Linked DNA regions of Homo sapiens: regions 1, 3, 4 and 5 are each linked to region 2. The links are contacts of gene promoters, found by promoter capture Hi-C in blood cells and fetal thymus (Javierre and others, 2016). All regions are on one chromosome and are shown on one strand. Each heading gives the region's core, a stretch centred on a gene start or on the middle of the fragment in contact. The rest is flanking DNA. Distances are from core to core; before and after follow the strand shown. Region 1 has its middle 36 kb from the start of ZNF823. Region 2 holds the start of ZNF44 (zinc finger protein 44). Region 3 has its middle 57 kb from the start of ZNF823. Region 4 holds the start of LOC124904639 (a long non-coding RNA gene). Region 5 has its middle 11 kb from the start of ZNF441.

Region 1 (4,354 bases), core at 1,500-3,999, 590 kb before region 2:
GACCAGCCTGGAGCCTGGGCAACCTAGTGACACCCTGTCTCCACCAAAGAAAGAAAGAAAGAGAAAGAGAGAGAGGGAGAGCAAAAAAGTCTGTGAATCTTAACTGAATTTCTCTGAATATGAGAAGTGCAAGGAAATATCTCTACAAACGGAAAGATGTAGGAGTAACTGAGGTGGTACAAAGGATTCTCTCTGAGATGGTGACATTTACTGTGAGACCTGAAATAATATATTAGGGCAGTAAAACGTTAGGGCAGAGGATTCAGGGAAGATGGCAGAGTAGCAAGCATAAAAAAGCTTTCTCAGGCCGGGCGCAGTGGCTCACGCTTGTAATCCCAGCACTTTGGGAGACTGAGGCGGGCAGATCATGAGGTCAGGAGTTTGAGACCAGCCTGACCAGCATGGTGAAACTCCGTCTCTACTAAAAATACAAAATTTAGCTGGGCATGGTGGCCTGCACCTGTAATCCCAGCTACTTGGGAGGCTGAGGCAGGAGAATCGCTTGAACCCGGGTGTCAGAGGTTGCAGTGAGCAGAGATTGCACCACTGCACTCCAGCCGACAGAGCGAGACTCCATCTAAAAACAAAAGCAAAAACAAAAACAAAAACAAAACCAAGCTGTCTCAGCCGGGTGTGGTGGCTCACAGCTATAATCCCAGCACTTTGGGAGGCTGAGGTGGGCAGATCACCCGGGGTCGGGAATTCGAGACCAGCCTGACCAATGTGGAGAAACCTCATCTCTACTAAAAATACAAAATTAGCCGGGTGCGGTGGTGCATGCCTGTAATCCCAGCTACTTGGGAGGCTGAGGCAGGAGAATCGCTTGAACCCGGGAGGCAGAGGTTGCGGTGAGCCGAGATCGCACCATTGCACTCCAGCCTGGGCAACAAGAGCGAAACTCTGTCTTAAAAAAAAAAAAAAAGCTGTCTCCCCACCTAGACAACCACTGGACTGACAGAATCATCTGATGTAGCAATGTTATAACTGTGGAGGCTATTGAAGCTTTGCAACTTCCATAAAAAGGATTAGACAGTAAACTATGGCTAATTGTGGTCATTTTATCACTTAGCACAATACAAGCTATCATCCCCACCCTTACCCCTGTTGCAGGCAGCTGCACATGGAGTGTTTTCCTCTAATTTGGCCTCGGGATCTCTCTCAGAAGCGTGGCTATAAACTTTAGTGCTGGCCAGGCGGGGTAGCTCATGCCTGTAATCCCAGCACTTTGGGAGGCCGAGGCGGGCGGATCACAAGGTCAGGAGATCAAGACCATCCTGGCTAACCTGGTGAAACCCAGTCTCTACTAAAAAAAATACAAAAAATTAGCCAGGCATGGTGGCGGGCGCCTGTAGTCCCAGCTACTCAGGAAGCTGAGGCAGGAGAATGGCGTGAACCCGGGAGGCAGAGCTTGCAGTGAGCCGAGATTGCACCACTGCACACCAGCCTGGGCCACTGAGTGAGACTCTGTCTCAAAAAAAGCAAAAACAAAAACAAACAAAAAGAACTTTAGTGCTGCATTGACGGGGCTCCAGGACACTTGGTTGTGGATATTTACAGTGTGACTTTCATGGGGTCTAATATTTAAGTGTTAACCCATAACCAAATGTCCTTCACAGGAAACTTGATTATACTGGCAGATGCCCTTATGGTTCTACCTCTGCCAAGTTAATCTCTACCAAGATAGCCAGATACCCACTCTCTACAGAGCCCTGACCTGGTAATAAGCTAGACATAGGTGTGGCAGTCAGGTGAGACGTGTGAGACAGCATCAGGCAGGCCAATATATGCACTGTGGGAGTTTCAGAAGGAGAAGAGACAGAGAAAGGTCAGGGGAGACTATTTGGAGAAATAATAGCTGCAAATATTCCAAATTAGATAAAAGCCATGAATGAATGCTGTCATCCAAGAAGCTCAATGAACTCCAGGTAGGATGAATGCAAAGAGAAGGACATGAAGACATATTATACTCAAATTGTCAAAGCCAAACATAAAGGGAGAACCTTGAAGGCAGCAAGAAAGAAGTGAATCATCACATATAAATGATCTTTCATAAGATCATCAGCAGATTTCTCATCAGAAGCGCTGAAGGCCAGAGGTAGTGGGCTGATGTATTCAAGGTACTTAAAAAAAAATGGCCACGGTGGCACATCCCTGCAGTCCCAGCTATTCCGGAGTCTGAAGTGGGAGGATCAGTTAAGGCCCAAGAGTTCAAGGCCAGCCTAGGTAACATGGCAAGACTCCATCTCAGAAACAAAGACAGCCAAGAATCCAATATCTGGCAACATTGTCTTTCAAAAGTGAGGAGGAAATTAAGGCATGCTCACATGAACAAAAACTGAGGTAGTTTTGTTCTTTTTGTTTTTGCCATTAGATGTACCCTGTGAGAAACGCAAAAGCCTTCTACAGGTTGAAATAGAACACTGGACAATATCTGGAAGGCGTAAGCCCAAATAAAGATCTCAGTAGAAACAAATGCATGGACAATTATAAATGCTAATATTATTGTACAATAATTGTGAACTCCAGTTTTTGTCTTTACATAATTGAAGATACAAATCCATTAAAAATTATTAGTCTAAAAGCTAGCATTTTAGACTTGGCTTTTGAACTCTATATTTTGTTTTTTTACACAGTTTAAGAGACTAATAAAAAAGAAACTAGGTTGGGCGTGGTGGCTCACGCCTGCAATCCCAACACTTTGGGAGGCTGAGGCAGGCAGATCACGAGGTCAAGAGATTGAGTCCATCCTTACCAACATGGAGAAATCCCATCTCTACTAAAAAAAGAAATACAAAAATTAGTTGGGCGTGGTGGCGCACGCCTGTAATCTCAGTTACTTGGGAGGCTGAGGCAGTAGAATCACTTGAACCCAGGAGGCGGAGGTTGCAGTGAGCCGAGATTGCACCACTGCACTGCAGCCTGGAGACAGAGAGAGACTCCGTCTCAAAAAAAAAAAAAAAGAAAGAAAGAAACGAATGCACCGAAAATATGTTTGCGTTTTTGAATACATAAAGTATAAAGATGTAAATTTATGACACCAAACTGAAAGGGGTGTGAACAGGCATGCCATGGAGCATTGTATTTGCATGCTATTTATGTTAAATTGGCATAAATTTAGAATGTTATGGCCTTAGGATGGTAAACGCAATCCCCATGGTAATTAACAGAGCAGTAGTGTATACACAAAAGGAAACAATAAAGAAATTTAAATGTTTCACTACAAAAAGCAATTAAAAGCAAAATAATGCAGAAATGCATGAAATGAGAAGAAAAAAGCTACAAGGCATATTGAAAACAAATAGGAAAATGACAAAACCAAGTCCTTTCTTATCAGGAATTACTTTATCTATTTATTCATTTTGAGACACAGTGTTGCTCTGTCGTCCAGGCTGGAGTGCAGTGGTACGATCTCGGCTCACTGCAACCTCTGCCTCCTAGGTTCAAGTGATTCTCATACCTCCAAAGTAGCTGGGATTACAGGCATGCAATTCTCCTGCCTCAGCCTCCCAAGTAGCTGGGATTACAGGCATGCGTCACCACACCCGGCTAATTTATTTCTATTTTTAGTAGAGACAGGGTTTCACTGTGTTGGCCAGGCTGGTCTGGAACTCCTGGCCTCAAGGGATCTGCTCACTTCGGCTTCCCCAAGTGCTGGGATTACAGGCGTGAGCCGCAGCGCCTGGCAATGTGAGTTAATTTTAGTGTATAATGTGAGAAAGGTTCTCAGTTCATCTTTCTGCAGGTCAATATCCCATTTTCCCAGCACATTGTTGAAAACCCATTCCCTATGAAAGCATCTTGGCCCATTTGTTGAAAATCAATGAGCCATAAACAAAGAGTGTCTTAGTCCATTTGTGCTGCTATCGTGGAATACCACAGACTGGGTAATTTATAAAGAATAGAAATTGACTTTCTCACAGTTCAGAAGGCTTAGAAATCCAAGAAGACACTGGCATCTGGCTTCAGCATTGCTGCATTCTCACAGGGTGGAAGACAGGAGGGCAAGAGAGGGCAAATTGCATTCATCAAACCCTGTATAATGCCATTAATCTATTCACGAGGGCAGAGTCCTCATGATCTAATCACCAAAAGGCCCCTCCTCCCAATAGTGTTGCAGTGGGAATTAAGTTCTGACTTATAAATTTTAGAGAGTACACAAATATTTAAACCATAGCTAAGGGACTCTCAATTCTGCCCTGCTGGTCTATATAGCTGACAATTTGCCAGTAAGTCTGGTTACTTTACTACCCACCCTGATGCTGAAGCATCCCATTCCGTCCCACATGATAGTCATGCAGGCATAGAAATGGTTCTAAAGCCGCAAGAGCATCCCTTAGACAACCTAGATGTACTT
Region 2 (4,437 bases), core at 1,311-3,810:
ATAATAAAAAAAAGGAATAGAAAACTACATATATATAATTTGTTTTCTGAATTCCAACTCTTTCTGGCCTCTTTAGAAACACTTTATCTTCTCTATAATCTCTAATGATAGGATGCCCTTTACAGTTAATAAAAAATTAAATTGGAAATAACTGAACAAATCTTTTCAGGGTAACTAACCCAGGGTGGGGCAGAACTGACTGGAACACAGACAAGTCTCACTCAACCGTCAGGTCAGGTCGTTCTATCACCTGGCACATCCGCCAGCCCCACGGTGCTCATTGAAGTGCTCAGCAACCACATTCCTAGGAGACACTGCCTTATGTCTTTTTCAGGCTCATGCAAAACCTCATTGGGTGGGTTTTTCAGTTTTTAGAAACAGTTTTCTAGCTTCACAGTCGGAGAGAGTCCAGAAGGCAGAAATCATTTGTCTTGTCCCCTGAATAACACCATCCAATTTTCTGATAAGCCATGCGTCACCAAGGAATGGAAACTAGGCTTGGGGAAAAAAATGTCAATGTCCCAGAGGTTAGGTTTTTTTTTTTTTTTTTTTTTTTTTGAGACAGAGTTTCCCTCTTGTCGCCCAGGCTGGAGTGCAATGGCATGATTGTGATTTCGGCTCACTGCAACCTCCACCTCCCAGGTTCAAGTGATTCTCCTGCCTCAGCCTCCCATGTAGCTGGGATTACAGGCACCTGCCACCATGCCCGGCTAATTTTTGTATTTTCAGTAGAGATGGGGTTTCACCATGTTGGCCAGGGTGGTCTTGAACCCCTGACCTCAGGTGATCCGCCCGCCTCGGCTTCCCAAAGTGCTGGGATTACAGGCGTGAGCCACCGCGCCCAGCCCAGGGGTTAGCTTTTTACAGGAATGATATACCAGAAGATTCCTCCCACCCCAGTGCATCCACCTGATCCTTTGGGAGGCCCCACTCCAACACCTCAGGCTGTCCTCTGGGAAGAGTGACCCAAGGGCCGATATCCACTAGGCCCTCCATGAGATTGGCAGCTTCCAGCATCTTAGGGTAGCCCCAGAAAGTTCCATAACACAGGGCCTGGAAAAGATACAGGGTGGGCTGAGGTCACATCACCCTGTAAAGGACATACTGAGAAGGCATCTGTGCCTAGGGGAGATAAAAGAGGCACAAAGGTTTGGTTTTTTTTACAGCAGTGTCAGGTGGTTATTCTCTTCTTCCTCACATGTGAAATGTTAAGGAAAACAAAATAAATCTGTTTAAAAAGAGCCATACATTGCTATCTGAAAACAAACGACAAAATTCTGTGTCTATTTGAAATATCGTCTTGCTGACAAAGGGTTCATAACGTTACTGGGAATTGAGGAGTGAAGTTAGCATATGGAAGGCTCTGGAAACCAAAAGATTTACTGTTAGCCCCAAGAGGAGTTAGGATGAAGGGACAGGTCTCAAAGACCCTGATGCCAATATCTTTGAAAGCCTCGGAGGAGAAATGGTCGCCCTTGGAAAGAAAGGACTGAAGAGCACAGAGACCACAGCTCCTCCCACACACAAACCCCACACACGAGTCTGGTTTGTGCCTAGTGACCCTCCCACCGTCACCGTGCAGCCTCCTCACCGGGCTCACAGGAACTGCGAGCCAGGCTGGAGGCGAGATTGCAGTTAGATATTAACCAGGTGCCCTCAGCCCCGCTGCTTCACAGGAAGCCGCCTCCCTGAGAGTCAGGTCACAGCAGACGCTGACCGCCGGCTTCCCCATTGGCCTGGGGATAAGATCTCTGAGAGTTGCTCAAGAGTCGTCTAAGTTCTTTCTCAGATCTTGAATTCCAGCGGAAAGGCTGGCGCCAAGCAGGCTGAAGACCCCACAAGGAAGCCCACTCAGCAGCAGAATGCGGTTTCTTCACCTCCAGTCCCAAGATTCACCCCTCACTTCTCCACCAACCAGCGACCCCACATCCCAACCACCCCCGTCCAGACCCCTAAACACCCCATCCTCAAACCTCTCACGGAGGCGGATCTAGGGTGTCCTCTCCTATTAAACCGTTTCTGCTGCAGCCCTCGGCGTCCGGGTGCAGTGACTTGGGCTGCGAACCTGTACTGGTTCCGCCGCACAATCTGGGGAGAAGCGGGGCTGAGGGCGCGGAGCTGCCCAGAGAGGGGCGCCGGGGCCGGGGCCGCAGTCGCAGCTCAGGGACGGGACAGGACGCCCGGGGTCCCGGCTGCCGGCCCAGCCCCACCCTGCGGCCAAACGGACCGAGGACCGAGGTGCGCAGGGGGCGCTCAGGTCCCAGACCCCAAAGACGCTGCGGCGAGGCCCGGGTCCCGCCACAGCCGGTTCCGACTGGTTCCGACCAGCCCTTCGCCCTGCCTCAGGACGCCGGGCCCCGCACACTCACCATTTCCCGGCTGTGCGGTGTCCCGGGTCCTCCCAACTCCCGTAGTCAGGGTAGGTCCCAGCGCGACAAAAGCCACCACAGATGTCCCAGGGCGTCTCTCAGTGACAGAATACGGAACAGAGGTCACCAGGGTGAAGAGGCCACTAGCTCCTGGAACGTCACACCCTCCTCTCTGCCTCGCGCCTGATTGACAATTCTCAGGAACCCGCCCACGACTTTGATTGGGTAGCCCTCCAGGTCCCGCCTCCTGGGCACTGAGTGACAGAAGAAGCGATCTCACAGTGCTGAGTGCAGCCGGATGAACAGGTTCCAGACCCGGCCCCTGGCAGGGCGGGCTTCCTCCCTGCGTTGTGACCCGACCCGTCCCGGGAAACGTTTGCCTTAAAGCGGAATTTCCTACCTGTACGCAGTGGGCCCTTTTTGCTTCTTCCTCCTGAACAATTGTGTGCAAGGAATCCCAGACTCACTGTCCAGTGGAGCCATCCCTTGGCCTCAGAGCAGGAGGGCAGCCGAGGCCACACAGGCCACACTGTAGCAGCGGGGGACAGGGGGTGGGTGGGTGGGGGGGTGGTGCTGATGTCCTCCAGGGACCAGGAATTTGGGATGAGGCTGTCGCCTGCAAGGTCAAGCCTTTCTTCCACTATAAGCGCTGGATGGGTTCTTTCTGCGCGCTACGCAAATAAAGACCACGGTATTGCAGTTAAAAAAAAAGTTTAATAAACACTAGGCCAGCTACGATACGTGAGAGACGGAGTTACTACTCAAATTATTCTCATCCAAGGTCCTCTGGTAGGGGTTTTTCAAGGGCAGTTTGGGAGAAAGGGTGGAGGTAGCTAGGCTTGCTACTGACTGGTTGGGGTGGGGATGAAATCACTGGGGATGGAATCTGTCCTCTTGGCAGTGCGTGGTGGCTCACCGCTGTAATCCCAATACTTTGGGAGGCCTAGGTGGGAGGATCGCTTGAGGCCAGTAGTTCAAGACCAGCCTGGACATAGAGTGAAACTCCGTCTCTATACTATAAGGGAGGAGACCACCCCTCATATTGTCTTATGCCCAATTTCTGCCTCCAAAGAAGAAGTAAAAACTAAAAGGCAGAAATGAAATCCACAGGCAGATAACCCGGCTTGTGCCCTGGGCTGGGTAGTTAAAAATCAACCTCTGACCTAACTGTGTTATCTATGATTCCAGACATTGTATGGAAAAGCACTGTGAAAATCCCTGTCCTGTTCTGTTCAGTTCTGGTTACCGGTGCATGCAGCCCCCAGTCACGTACCCACTGTTTGCTCCATCAATCACGACCCTCTCACGCGGACTCCTAGTTGTAAGCCCTTAAAAGGGACAAGAATTGCTCACTCGGGGAGCTCGGTTTTTGGAGACGTGAGTCCGCCGATGCTCCCAGCCCAGCTGAATAAAGCCCTTTCCTTCCACAACTCGGTGTCTGAGGGGTTCTTGTCTGCGGCTTGTACTGCTACATATTTAAAAAAGAAAAAAAGAGGCCGGGCCCGGTGGCTCACACCTGTAATCCCAGAACTTTGGGAGGCCCAGGCGGGCGGATCACCTGAGGTCGGGAGTTTGAGACCAGCCTGACCAACATGGAGAAAGCTCGTCTCTACTAAAAATACAAAATTAGCTGGGCGTGGTGGCACATGTCTGTAATCCCAGCTACCTGGGAGGCTAAGGCGGGAGAATCACTTGAACCCGGGAGGTGGAGGTTGCGGTGAGCTGAGATCGCGCCAAGCCGAGATCGTGCCTTTGCACTCCAGCCTGGGCAACAAGAGCGAAACTCCGTCTCAAAAAAAAACAAAAAAAAGACAAAAAAAAAAAAAACCTATCCTGTTATGCTGAATCACTTCTGGTTGGGGCCACAGGAGCAGAGTTGGCAGGTGCAGGTGGTGTCAGACATGCAAAAAAAAAACAAACAAACAAACAAAAACTGAAAATACGTCTACAAATGCTAATCTACAATAGTGGTGTTATCTGCAGAAATAGCTGGCAATCTATGTCTACACTTTAGCAGCATTCCGATTCCTTTCATCCCTCAGCCTGATGGCCATTCATTCGTTTTACA
Region 3 (4,424 bases), core at 1,284-3,783, 610 kb before region 2:
CATTCAGCAAGCCTCTACAAAGTCTCAAACTCCCTCATCTTCCTGTTGTCTTCTGAGCCCTCCACACTCTTCCAAACCTCTGCCTGTTAAGAAGTTCCAAAACCAATTCCACATTTTCAGATATCTTGATAGCAATGCGCCACTTCTCAGTACCAATTTTCTTGTATTATTCCATTCTTGCAGCATGATAAAGAAATACCTGAGACTGGGTAATTTATAAAGAAAAGAGGTTGAATTGGCCCATGATTCTGCAGACTGCACAGGAAGCATGGTACTGGAAGGATGGCATCTGCTCAGCTTCTAGGGAGGCCTCAGGAAACTGACAATCATGGTGGAAGGCAAAGGGGGAGCAGCAGTTCACACGGCCAGAGAAGGAGCAAGAGAGAGCAGGGCAAGGTGCCACAGACTTTTAAATGACCGGTTCTCACAAGAACTTACCATCTCAAGAACAGCACCACAGGGATAGTGCTAAACCATTCATGAAGGACCACCATCCAGTCACCTCCCACAAGGCCCCACCTTCAATATTGGGAATTACAATTCGACATGAGATTTGGGTGGAGATTCAAATCCAAACCATGTCCTTTTGCTTTTTTCTGTTTTGTTTGTGGAGTAGATTTTTCTCCATCCCTTTACTTTGAGCCTAAGGGTGCCATTGCATGTGAGATGGGTCTCTTGAAGACAGCATACCATTGGATCTTGCTTTTTTATCCAAGTCACCACTGTGCCTTTTAATTGGGGCATTTAGCCTGCTTACATTCAAGGTTAGTATTTATATGTGTAGATTTGATCCTATCATGTTGTTAGCTGGTTATTATGCAGACTTGTTTGTGTGGTTGTTTTATAGTGTCACTGGTCTATGTATTTAAGTGTGCTTTTGTGGTGGCTGGTAATGGTTTTTTCTTTCCATATTTAGCACTCCCTTCAGGACCTCTTGTACAGATGTTCTCTTTCATTGTAATCACACAGGATGGGCTATGTCACCCAAATAACATGTGGTGGTGATTAACATGTGAAATGTTACCTGCCAGGGTCACGCATTACAGACTCTGTGCCCAGAGTATTTTTTCATGGCTCTTGTTTTCTGTTAGTTGTAATAGAATACCTGAAATTTGGCTGGGCGCGGTGGCTCGTGCCTGTAATCCCAACACTTTGGGAGGCTGAGGCAGGTGGATCATTTGAGACCAGGAGTTTGTGACCAGCTCAGCCAACATGGTGAAACCCCATCTCTACTGAAATATAAAAACAAAGCCGGGCATGGTCATGCATGCCTGTAATCCCAGCTACTTGGGAGGCTGAAGCATGGGAATTACTTGAACTGGGAGGTCGAGGCTGCAGTGAGCCAAGATTGCCCCCCCTGCATTCCAGCCTGTGCAACAGAGCAAGACTGTTTCCAAAAACAAAAAAAAACAAAAAACCCTGAATTTGGGTTAATATATAAAAAATACTTATTTTGTACAATTCTCAAAGTTTGGAAATCCAAGGGCAAATGGGGTACATCTGGTGAAAGCTTCTTGCTCTTTACTGTCTGAGGCAGTGGAGATCACTAGGCACGGGGGCTGATTGTGCTAACTCTGGTCTCTTTCTCTTCTTACAAGGCCACAAGTCTTATTTGTAGGATAACCCATTCATTCATTACCTCTTCAATTCGTCAGTGGATTAATCCATTCATGAGGCAGAGCCCTCATGCCTCTTAAAGGGCCCTGCTTTCAGTACTGACACATTGGGGATCAAATTTCGTTATGAGTTTTGGAAGGGGAAATTATTCACACTTAGCAAGGGCTGATTAGGTACACTGCTTCTGCTGAAAATACCACACTCTCAGAGGGAAAATGGGAATTAGGCAAATACCATATTGTTTGCATAAGTAGTTAAGGCACACACAACCCCATTTATTAGTTATGTTGGTGCAGATCTTCCCAAATCTAGCCCCTAGATACCATCAAAGTTCAACTTTCTAAATAAACGTGTAAGAATATGCAGTCTCAGAACTGCTAATTTGTCTCTTATAGACAGTATGTTTGGGACTTTCTCATGAGAGGTAATACTGACCCACTATACAGAGAGACACTAGAGGTGATCCAGGCAGCATATCTCAGTCTCTGAAATCACCAATGAGAGGCATGTCCTTGTTGGCTGTCACTTTACTGAATATATTCAATTCTAGCATCAGAATTGCTGTGATGGAGAAAGTGAGTGTAGACAGAAGACAAGAGGCTGACCAAGTCATTGAATAAATTTTTGGAGTCCACAGCATCGTGTGAACTTCTGAAGTGAGTATAGATTCCTAATGCTGTTGGTCTGAACCTTCCTCCTCTGCCATGTGGGATGTTTCAGGACTCAGTGACCTTTGAGGATGTGGCTGTGAACTTCACCCAGGAGGAGTGGGCTTTGCTGGGTCCTTCCCAGAAGAATCTCTACAGAGATGTGATGTGGGAAACCTTCAGGAACCTGATGTCTGTAGGTAAGGGTGACATCATTTCTTCACTTAGTCAATTATAGAACAAGTGTTTCTTGGTCTTCTGCATTGCTCAATGATTTGGAACATGGTAGGGAATACAGCAGACCCTTGAACAAGGTGGGGGTTAGAGACTCTGATCGTCCACACAGTCTGTTAGGTGCCTGTGAATTTAGAGTCCCTAAAGAGTTAACTACTAATAGACTGCTGTTGACCAAAGCTGTATTGATAACAGAAAGTCAATTAATACATTTTGTATGTTTGGTATATATCTATATACATATATATGGCCAGGTGTGGGGGCTCACACCTGTAATTCCAGTACTTTGGGAGGCTGAAGTGGGAGGATTGCTTGAGCTCAGGATTTTGAGACTGGCTGTAGCAATGAAGTGATACCCTGTCTGTATAAAAAATAAAAAAAGTAGCCATGGATGGTGGCACACCTGTGTTCCTAGCTATTCAGAAGGTTGAGGCAGTAGGTTCGCTTGAACTGGGGAGGTTGAGCTTGCAGTGAACCATGATTGCACCACTACAGTTTAGCCTGGGCAACAGAGTGAGTCCTTGTCTCACTCTGTGTGTGGCTGGGCATGGTGACTTGCGCCTGTAATCCCATCACTTTAGAAGGCTGAGGCAGGTGCATCACTTGATGTCAGGAGTTTGAGACCAGCCTGGCCAACGTGGTGAAACCCCATCTCTACTAAAAATACAAAAATTAGCTTGGTGTGGTGGCATGCACCTGTAATCCCAGCTACCTGGGAGGGTAAGGGAGGAGAATCACTTGAACCTGGGAGGCAGAGGTTGCAGTGAGCCAAGACCACGCCACTGCACTCTAGCCTGGGCAAGAGAGAGAGACTCCGTCTCAAAAAAAAAAAAAGTGCGTATGTGTATATATGTTTAAGACAGGGTCCCTTGCTAGGTCTAGAGGCGAGTGCCACCATCCCCAGCTAATTTTTGTATAATTTTTTTGTAAGGTGGAGGGTCGTGAACTCCTGGCCTCAAGCATTCCTCCTCCCTAGCATCCCAAAGTGCAGGGATTACAGGCATGAGCCACCATGCCAAGCCTGTTTGGTATGTTATGTACTGTATTCTTATAATACAGTAAGCTTTTCTTTTGAAAAGGTTATCAAAAAAATTAGAAGAGAAGATATGTTGACTTTAGTAAGTGCAAGTAGATTATCAAGGTGTTCTTCCTTGGTTGTCTTCATATTGAGTAACCTGAGCAAAAAAGGAGGGTTTGGTCTTGCTCTCTTAGAGATGGCAAGAGCTGATGAAAATGTGCATGAGTGAACTGTGCAGTTCAAAACCATGTTGGTCAAGGTTCAACTGAACTTTGGTGAATAAATCAGCCATGGCCACAGTGTCCCATGAACATAGAATCTAATAATTTTTCTATAATTTTGTAATAACTTATGATGACTTTTATGGGTCTGCATTTTAGGAATAAAATGTGAAGACCAGATCATTGAAGATCAGTACAATAATTCCAAAAGAAATCTAAGGTCATTTGCACTTACAACCTAGAGCTATGTCCCTTAAGATATTGTTAGAATGACAACAAATGTTAAAAGCAAGCAAAGAAAATGAAGCAGCCCAGCTTCAAATTCATTCATTTTTAGAAAAAATTTTCCAGGCTGGGCATGGTGGCTCACACCTGTAATCCCAGCACTTTGGGAGGTCAAGGGAGGCAGATTGCTTGAGCCCAGGAGTTCAAGACCAGCCTGGGCAACATGGTGAAACTCCATCTGTACAAAAATCTAAAAGTTAGCCAGGCATGGTGGCATGCACCTGAGGTCCCAGCTACTAGGGAGGTTAAGGTGGGAGGATGGCTTGAACCCAGGAGGTCAAGGCTGTGATGAATCGTGAACATGCCACTGTACTTCAGCCTGGGTGACAGAGTGAGACCTTGTCTCCAAAAAAAAAAATAACTATTTTCCAAAAACAATATACTTACACAAGACATAAATAT
Region 4 (3,956 bases), core at 1,353-3,852, 520 kb before region 2:
GAGCCACCGCGCCCAGCCTTTTTTTTTTTTTTTTTGTGACGGAATCTTGCTTTATCGCCCAGGCTGGAGTGCAGTGGCTCAATCTCGGCTCACTGCAACCTCCGATTCGCAGGTTCAAGCGATTCTTGTCCCTAAGCCTCTCGAGTAGCTGGAACTACAGGTGCCCGCCACCACACCTGACTAATTTTTGTATTCTTAGTAGAGACGGGGTTTCGACATGTTGACCAGGCTGGTCTCAAACTCCAGACCTCAGGTGATCCACCTGCCTCAGCCTCCCAAAGTGCTGGGATTACAAACGTGAGCCACCACGCTCAGCCTGAATGCCCTAATTTCTGAGGGAAATTGTTCTCTCCTTTTTTATTCCCAGGACTTAGATGTTCTACCATATGTCTTAATCATAATTTGTTGTCCCAGTTGTTTGAAGGTTTTTTATGTATTTTGCAACAATTTGAAGCAGTTCCTGCCAAGCTTGACCTAATTAGGCTCCATCATTGATTAAATAAAAAAGAGAACTTTCTTTCAGACCTTTGGATAGTCCACAGATGGATTGAAAAATACAAAGGTGCAATAACTTACAAATAAGATCTGATCTGCTCTCTCTAGGGATCCACATTGGAAATTTGGTCTGCTGTTTTCAAGACTGGTGCTGATGTGAGGAGGGATTGGGACAAGGACAAATAAAAACTCCACAAAACTTTCCTACTATTTGTCACCTTCCTTATTCTATTTGTTTATCTCTGTGTTAATAGTACAGGGTACTGAATATAATATATTCACCATACTTTATCTGTTTTTGGAAAGCTGTTGCTTTCTTGGTTAGAAGGATTTTAGCATTTTTAGATGTTTGTGACTTCTATTAGATTTGGTCATGTAATTTTTAATGATGACAAAAAGGTCTGTTTAGGGATTTAGGGAAATATTATAGATATTCATGAGAGATGACATTGAGTTTTTTTCTAAGAACATATGCAATCTTGGCCCTTCTTTTCTTCTTTGACATTACTTAATAAAGTTTAATTTTTCCATTGGGATGGTAAAATATCCTTATTAGTCTTTTGTCATACTTAACTACATATGTTCTACAGTAAACCAGTTGCTAGCTTCCAAATGTTCTCTCTTAGTGTAGTCACATAGCACAGGCTAAATCCCCCAAGGCACAAGGGTCACTCATTACAGACACAGTGACCAGAGTGTTTTTTCCCTTTTTTTTTTTTTGAGGCGGAGTTTCTCTCTTGTTGCCCAGGCTGGAGTGCAATGGCGCAATCTCGGCTCACCGCAACCTTCGCCTCCCGGGTTCAAGCAATTCTCCTGCCGCAGCCTCCTGAGTAGCTGGGATTACAAGCATGAACCACCATACCGGGCTAATTTTTTGTATTTTTAGTAGAGACAGTGTTTCTCCCTGTTGGTCAGGCTGGTCTCGAACTCCTGACCTCAGGTGATCTGCCTGCCGCGGCCTTCCAAAGTGCTGGGATTACAGGTGTGTGCCACTGTGCCTGGCCTCAGAGTGTTTTTTTCATGGCTTAGTCTGTTTTTTGTTGCTTATAACAGAATACTTTAACCTGGGTAATTTATAAGAAATGATATTTATTTTTTACACTTCTGGAGGGTGGGAAGCCCAGCATCAAGGCTGGGCATCTGGTGAGAGCCTTCTTGCTGGTAACTCTCTTTTGCACAATAGGTAGTAGGACTTTGTCATGACAAGAACTGCAGACCCACTGTAGAAATAGAAATGAGGAGTGATTCAGGCAATAAGACTCACTTTCTTAACTTACCAACAAGAGGCGTGTTCCTATTCAACTGTTACTTTACAAAACATGTTCATTTCTAGGATCAGAATTGTGTGGGATAAAATGAGTGTAAAGAGAGAATAAGAGTGGGTTTACCATGTTCTTGAATAAATGCTTGGAAACCACAGCATCATGTGAAGGTTATGAAGTGAATTTACATTCCCAGTGCCTTCAGTTTTAATATTCCTCCTCTGCACATGTGAAATATTTCAGGACTCAGTGGCATTTGAGGATGTGGCTATAAACTTCACCTGTGAGGAGTGGGCTTTGCTGGGTCCATCACAGAAGAGTCTCTACAGAGATGTGATGCAGGAAACCATCAGAAACCTGGACTGTATAGGTAAGGATGTCATCATGTCTTCACTTAGTCAATTAGAGACATTTGTTTCTTGGTCATCAATGCTGTTCAATTATTTGAAATATGGAAGGGTATATAATTGGCCCTTGAACCAGCCACCCAAGCAGTCATACATCTTCTCCCGCACAACTTAACCACTAGTAGCCTACTGTTTACTGGCAGCATTACTGGTAACATAAACAGTTGATTAATACATGTATTATATGTCATATGTATTACATGCTATATATTCTCACAGGAAAGTAAGCTAGAAAAGGAAAATATTCATTAGGAAACCATAGGTAAGTGGAACATTATTTAGTATTCATAGAAAATACAACATTACAAAGTTTTCATTCTGATTGTCTTTACATTGAGTAGACTGAATAAGAGGAGGGGTTGGTCTTGCTGTCTCAAGAGTAGCAGAGACTGAAGAAATTCATATGTAAGTAGACCTGTGCAGTTCAAACCTGTGTTGAAGACTCAGCTGTAGTTTGGTGTGTGAATCATGCATGATTGTAGTGTACATAAAATCTTACAGTCTTTCTATAATTTTATAATAATTTATAGTCATTTTTCTGGTTCTAACTTTTAGGAATGATATGGCAAAATCATGATATAGAAGAAGATCAGTACAAAGATCTCAGAAGAAATCTAAGGTAATTTGCACTCACAAGAGAAAGCTGTGTCCTTGAAGTGATTCATAGTATGCCAGAAATTTTATTTTATTTTGTTTGTTTTAGAGACAGTGTCTCACTTTGTTGCTCAGGCTGGAGTACAGTGGTATGATCATAGCTCGCTGTAGCCTCGGACTCCTGTGCTCAATGGTCCTCCCATTTCAACCTCCTGAGTAGCTAGGGTTACAGGCATGCACCACCACATGTGGCTACATATTTAGTTTTTGTAGAGATAGAGTCTTGCTGTGTTTGACCAGACTCATCTCCAGCTCCTGTCCTTAAGCGTTCCTCCTGCCTTGGCCTCTCAAAAGGCAGGTATTGCAGGCATGAGCCACTGTGACCAGCCCAAAATTTTAAAAAGAAGCAAGGAAAATTAACAAGCCCACCTTAAATTTATTTATTCTTAGAAAATTTTCTTCAAAAACATATACTTAAATGTGACATGGCTATGGCTATTCAGTGCCTGCAAAATAGTTCCCTTGGAAACAGTATTAAGAATTCCCATATGAATGTCACTATCTTCAAAACAGCTGGGGTTGAGTTACCTTGTACATCATTCTGTCCATTCATGTTCAAAGAGGGCATGAGACCTACACTTTGCATGATAATGTTAGAAATGTAAATCCAGGCCAGGTGCGATAGCTCACACCTGTAATCCCAACTATTTGGGAAGCTGAGGCAGGAAGACTGCTTGAGCCCAGGTGTTCAATCAGCCTGGGCAACGTGGCAAGACGCCCTTTCTACAAAAAATACAAAAATTAGCTAGGCATGGTGGCCTGTGCTTGTGGTTTCAGTTACTTGGGAGGCTGAGACAGGAAGGTTGCTTGAGCCCAGGAGGTCAAAGCCGCAGTAAGCCCTGTTCACATTACTATACTCCAGCCTGGGCAACAGAGCAAAACCCAGTTTCAAAAAAAAAAAAAAAAAAAGAAAAAGAAAAAGAAAGGCTGGGTATGGTGGCTCACCCTTGTAATCCCAGCACTACAAGAGGTCAAGGTGGGCAGATTGCTTGAGCTCAGGAGTTCAAGACTAGCCTGGGCAACATGGTGAAACCTCGTCTCTATAAAAAATACAAAAATCTAATCTCAGCATTTTGGGAGGCTGAGGTGGGCAGATCACGAGGTCAGGAGATCGAGACCATCCTGGCTAACATGGTGA
Region 5 (4,386 bases), core at 1,800-4,299, 540 kb before region 2:
TTGCATTTCCCTAACCATGAGAGAGAGATGTTGAACATCTTTATGTGATTATCACCTTTTGTATGCTTCATTAGAGGAATGTCTATTCAATTCCCTAACATATTTTTCAACGTAATTGTATTTTACCCAGCATGGGCTGCTGAAATAAAATACCAAGTATTGAGGGTATTAACCCACCAACTTTTAATTCTCACTGTACAAGAAATTATTAAGTAAGTCCAAGGTCAACGTAATGGCAGATTCAGTGCCTGATAAGGGTCTGCTTCATGGTACAAGCAAGGCTGTCATCTCATTGAGTTCTCATATGGTGAAGAGCAAAAGAAAGCTACCTAGGGAATCTTATAAGCCCATTCATAAGGGACTACCCTCATGATCTCATCTAATTCTAACTACCTCCCTGAGATCCCATATCTTCATTCCATACATTAGGAAGTAAGGCTTCAACACTTGAATTTCAGGAGACAAACTCAATAATTTTCTACCCTGCCTCCCCAAATTTATATCCCTACATGCAAAATACATTTATTTCATTTCAACAGCATCGAAAGTCTTGAGTCAGTCCACGATTAGGTGTAAAGCCTAAACTCAAACTCCATTAAATATCATCTGAATCAGATATGGGTGAGAGTTGAGGTAACATTCATCCTGAGGCAACATTCTTTTCCAAATGTGAGCCTTAGAAAACAAACCGGTTGTGTGCCCTAGTGTTGAGACAGGCTTAGGAAAACACTTCTATTTCAAAGAAGAGAAATATGAAAGGAGGAAGTGGTGACAGTTCCCAAGCAAGCCAAAAACCCAGAAGGTAACCTTCATATAAGAATAATCCTCTTTGGGCCAGGCATGGTGGCTCACGCCTGTAATCCCAGCACTTTGGGAGGCGGAGGCGGGCGGATCTTGAGGTCAGGAGATCGAGACCATGCTGGCTAACACGGTGAAACCCCATCTCCACTAAAAATACAAAAAATTAGCCTGGCGTGGCGGTGGGTGCCTGTAGTCCCAGCTACTCGGGAGGCTGAGGCAGGAGAATGGCGTGAACCCGGGAGGCGGAGCTTGCAGTGAGCCGAGATCGCACCACTGCACTCCAGCCTGGGAGACAGCGAGACTCCGTCTCAAAAAAAAAAAAAAAAAAAAAAAAAAAAGAAGAAGAATCCTCTTTGACTCAATATTCTGGAAAAGAGATTGGTGGGAAAGGCTCTCTGACATGATCAAGGATGACTGAAAAACTTACACAAAAGCAAAGACAAATCTTTACTAACAAGGAACTCAAAAGATCTTCTGAAATCCTCTACAATGACAACAATAATGACATTATGATGATGTAGAAGATTTAAAAGATGCAGAGCCATTGATTGGGACCTGAACGCATTGCAGCAGTTTTTCAACAGGCAGAGGTGTTAAAGATTATTATCCTCAAGTAAGATCCCTCAGTGGAGCAAAGTCTCCACCTCACCTGAGTAATTACAACATGCCTACAAACACAGTAGATGATTCAAAGAAATAAAGGAATAAGATTCTTATAACAACATTTCTAACTAAGCATTTGCATATATGAAGACTGAACCCTCAGTACTTATAGATCTTCAGCCCTCAAGCCAAACAGATCCTGACTGTATTATTTAGCCTCCTCCAAAGAGTCAACATCTGCAATCAGAACCTTGTTCTTATAACATAGATGATTGTTCGGATGTTCTGTCAGAAGATTCCATTTAACCTGATCTCTCACTACGTATCTACAATACCACATGTCTAGCCACCTCAACAAATCACAGTGTTAGGCACCATACAGTGATCATCATCACTATCACTATACCTGGGTAATCAAGAGAGACAAACTAGGATTTTGCTGAATATTAACATACTCTTTCAGGTCAATTCTCAAAAGGAATCTGTGTGTATTGAAGGAAATTGTAACTTTCTGGCTGACATGTACTATTTAGGGAGGCCTGTGATGGTTGCCCTGTACTGAATAAGTATAGACTTTTTCTCAATAATTCCCTAAGCAATATAATAACTATTTACATAGTATTTACAATGCATGAAGTATTATAAATAATCTAAAAATGATTTACAGTGTGCAGGAGGATGTGCATAGGTTACATGCAACTATGTCATTTTTAAAAAGGGACTTTAGCATCTGTGGATTCAGGTATCCTTGGGAGGTGATAGAACCAATCTCTTGAATATATCAAGAGATAACTATATTCAAAATAAATGGAAACTACTTAAGTCTTTATAACATCTTTATATTCATAGGGCTTATCTCCAATGTGAATTCTTCCTCATATCTTAAATAAAATAAGATTAGCGAATGCTTCTCCCACATTCCATACATTTAGAGGGTTTCTCTTTAGTGAGTCCTTTTATGTCCATTAAAGTAAGTGGGAGAACTGAATGCTTTTTCACATCCCTTACATTCATACAGCTTCTCTCCAGTGTGAATTTTTTCATGTATACAAAGGGAACTGGAAAAACTGAAGGCTTTACCAAATTGCGTACAATCATGGTTTTGTTTCCAGTGAGTTCTTTCATGCCTTAGGAGGGAAAAGGACAAAAACAAAATGCTTTCTTACACTCCTTACGTTCATGGAGTTTCTTTCCAGTGTGAGTCCTGTAATGATTTCAAAAAGAACAGACATCGCTAAAGGCTTTCCCACATTTACATTTACAGTGTTTCTCCCCAGTGTGTGTCCTTTTATGTCTTTGTAGAAAACTGGAAGAATCAAGGGCTTTCTCACATACCTTGCATGTCTGAGATCCATCTCCGGTGTGCGTTTTCATGTGTCTTTGAAAGCTTGTGCATGAAAGAAGGCTTTCCCACATTGCTTACATTTATAGGGTTTCTCTTCAGTGTGAGTTCTTTCATGTCTTTGAACTAAACTGAGATAATGAAAGCTTTTCCCACATATCTTACATTTATGATTTCTACTTCCAGTGTATGTTCTTGTGTATATTTGAAAGCCTCTGAGATGATAAAATGCTTTTACACATTGCTTACCTTCATAGGGTTGTTTTCCAGTTTGAGCCTTTTCAAGTATTTGAGTGTAACAGAAACCACTGAAGGCTTTCCCACATTGTTTGCATTTATAAGGTTTCTCTCCAGTGTAAGTTCTTTCATGTCTTTGAAATGGTCTGTGAGAATTGAAGCCTTTCCCACATATCTTACATTTATGAGGCCTATCTCCACTGTGCATTCTCATGTGTGTTTGAAAGCTTCTGAGACGATTAAGTACTTTCTCACATTCCTTACAGTCACTAAGTTTCTTTCCAGGGTAAGGCCTTTAATGTATTCAAAGGAAGTGGCAATAACTGGAGGCTTTCTCACATTGTTTATGTGTATGTGGCTTCTCTCCATATTCCTGATACTCATGTGGCTTGTGTTGAGCATGAGCTCTATGGTAGCAATTAAGATGAACGACCCATGCTGACTTCTCCACACACACTGCTTTCACGTGGTTTTGCTCAAGGGAGACTTTTTTTTTTTTTTGAGACGGAGTTTCATTCTTGTTGCCCAGGCTGGAGTGCAATGGCTGATCTTGGCTCACTGCAACCTCTGCTTCCCAGGTTCAAGGGATTCTCCTGCCTCAGCCTCCCGAGTAGCTGGGATTACAGGCATTGTGCCACCACGCCCGGCTAATTTTGTATTTTTAGTAGAGACGGGGTTTCTCCATGTTGGTCAGGCTGGTCTCGAACTCCCAATCTCAGGTAATCTGCCTGCCTCAGCCTCTCAAAGTGCTGGGATTACAGGCGTGAGCCACCGAGCCCGGCCTCAAGGGAGATTTTTGTTGTTCACAATACCACCTGGAATGTGGCTGAAAGTTTCTCCAAATTATCTACCTCCTTTACTTTTACAGAATCAGTCTACCATATGATATCTGTAAAAACAGAGAAGTACAATTACTACAGGTTTGTTTATAAGTGTTTTTTATATATATTAATAGGTCTTAAATTTACATTGTTGACATTATCATGCAAAGCTTAGGTGTCATGCCCTGTTTGAACATGAACGGACTGAATGCTGTGCAAGATAACTCAACTGTGGCTATCATCGGAACAGTAATATTCACGTGGGAATTCTTAGTACTGTTTTCCAAGGAAATTATTTTGCAGACACACTTAACAGCTATGTCCCATTTAAGTATGTTTTTGAAGAAAATTTTCTAAGAGTGAATAAATTTAAGCCAGGATTATTCTTTTTTATTTATTTATTTATTTATTTATTTTGCTTGTTTTAAAATTTTCCTGTCTTTTTTTTTAGACGGAGTCTTGCACTTTCGCCTGAGCTGGAGTGCAATGGCATGATCTCGACTGACTGCAACGTCCTCCTCCCGGGTACATGCGATTCTCCTGCCTCAGCCTCCTAAGTAGCTGGGACTACAGGTTCACACC

Evidence for each region. The method cuts DNA at HindIII sites, captures the fragments that hold promoters and counts their contacts. A CHiCAGO score of 5 or more calls a contact.
Region 1: a contact is called between a fragment that was not itself captured here and the fragment with the promoter of ZNF44 in region 2, in 2 of 17 cell types (M2 macrophages and erythroblasts). The highest score is 5.8, in M2 macrophages.
Region 3: a fragment that was not itself captured here is called in contact with the fragment with the promoter of ZNF44 in region 2 in 1 of 17 cell types (erythroblasts); the score reaches 5.3 in erythroblasts.
Region 4: a contact is called between a fragment that was not itself captured here and the fragment with the promoter of ZNF44 in region 2, in 1 of 17 cell types (M2 macrophages). The highest score is 5.6, in M2 macrophages.
Region 5: a contact is called between a fragment that was not itself captured here and the fragment with the promoter of ZNF44 in region 2, in 1 of 17 cell types (M0 macrophages). The highest score is 5.6, in M0 macrophages.

Annotation. Positions count from the first base shown.
Region 1 is chr19:11,700,909-11,705,262 of GRCh38, forward strand. No RefSeq gene overlaps it. Among named protein-coding and RNA genes, the nearest start is that of ZNF823, 36 kb to the right of the region's middle. The HindIII fragment of the contact is 3,499 bases long and covers 1,001-4,354 here.
Region 2 is chr19:12,292,323-12,296,759 of GRCh38, forward strand. It overlaps ZNF44 (zinc finger protein 44), which reads right to left and starts at 2,561. Exons shown (of 4, transcript NM_016264.4): 1 at 2,370-2,561. The coding sequence starts at 2,372. RefSeq lists a silencer at 2,116-2,345 and an enhancer at 2,896-2,945. The HindIII fragment of the contact is 16,141 bases long and covers 1-4,437 here.
Region 3 is chr19:11,680,209-11,684,632 of GRCh38, forward strand. It overlaps the pseudogene ZNF833P. Among named protein-coding and RNA genes, the nearest start is that of ZNF823, 57 kb to the right of the region's middle. The HindIII fragment of the contact is 2,051 bases long and covers 1,509-3,559 here.
Region 4 is chr19:11,775,611-11,779,566 of GRCh38, forward strand. ZNF441 (zinc finger protein 441) reads left to right here. Exons shown (of 4, transcript NM_152355.3): 2 at 2,001-2,127; 3 at 2,720-2,783. LOC124904639 (a long non-coding RNA gene) reads right to left here and starts at 2,027. Exons shown (of 2, transcript XR_007067141.1): 1 at 1,884-2,027; 2 at 1,565-1,715. The HindIII fragment of the contact is 4,273 bases long and covers 467-3,956 here.
Region 5 is chr19:11,754,201-11,758,586 of GRCh38, forward strand. No RefSeq gene overlaps it. Among named protein-coding and RNA genes, the nearest start is that of ZNF441, 11 kb to the right of the region's middle. The HindIII fragment of the contact is 318 bases long and covers 2,891-3,208 here.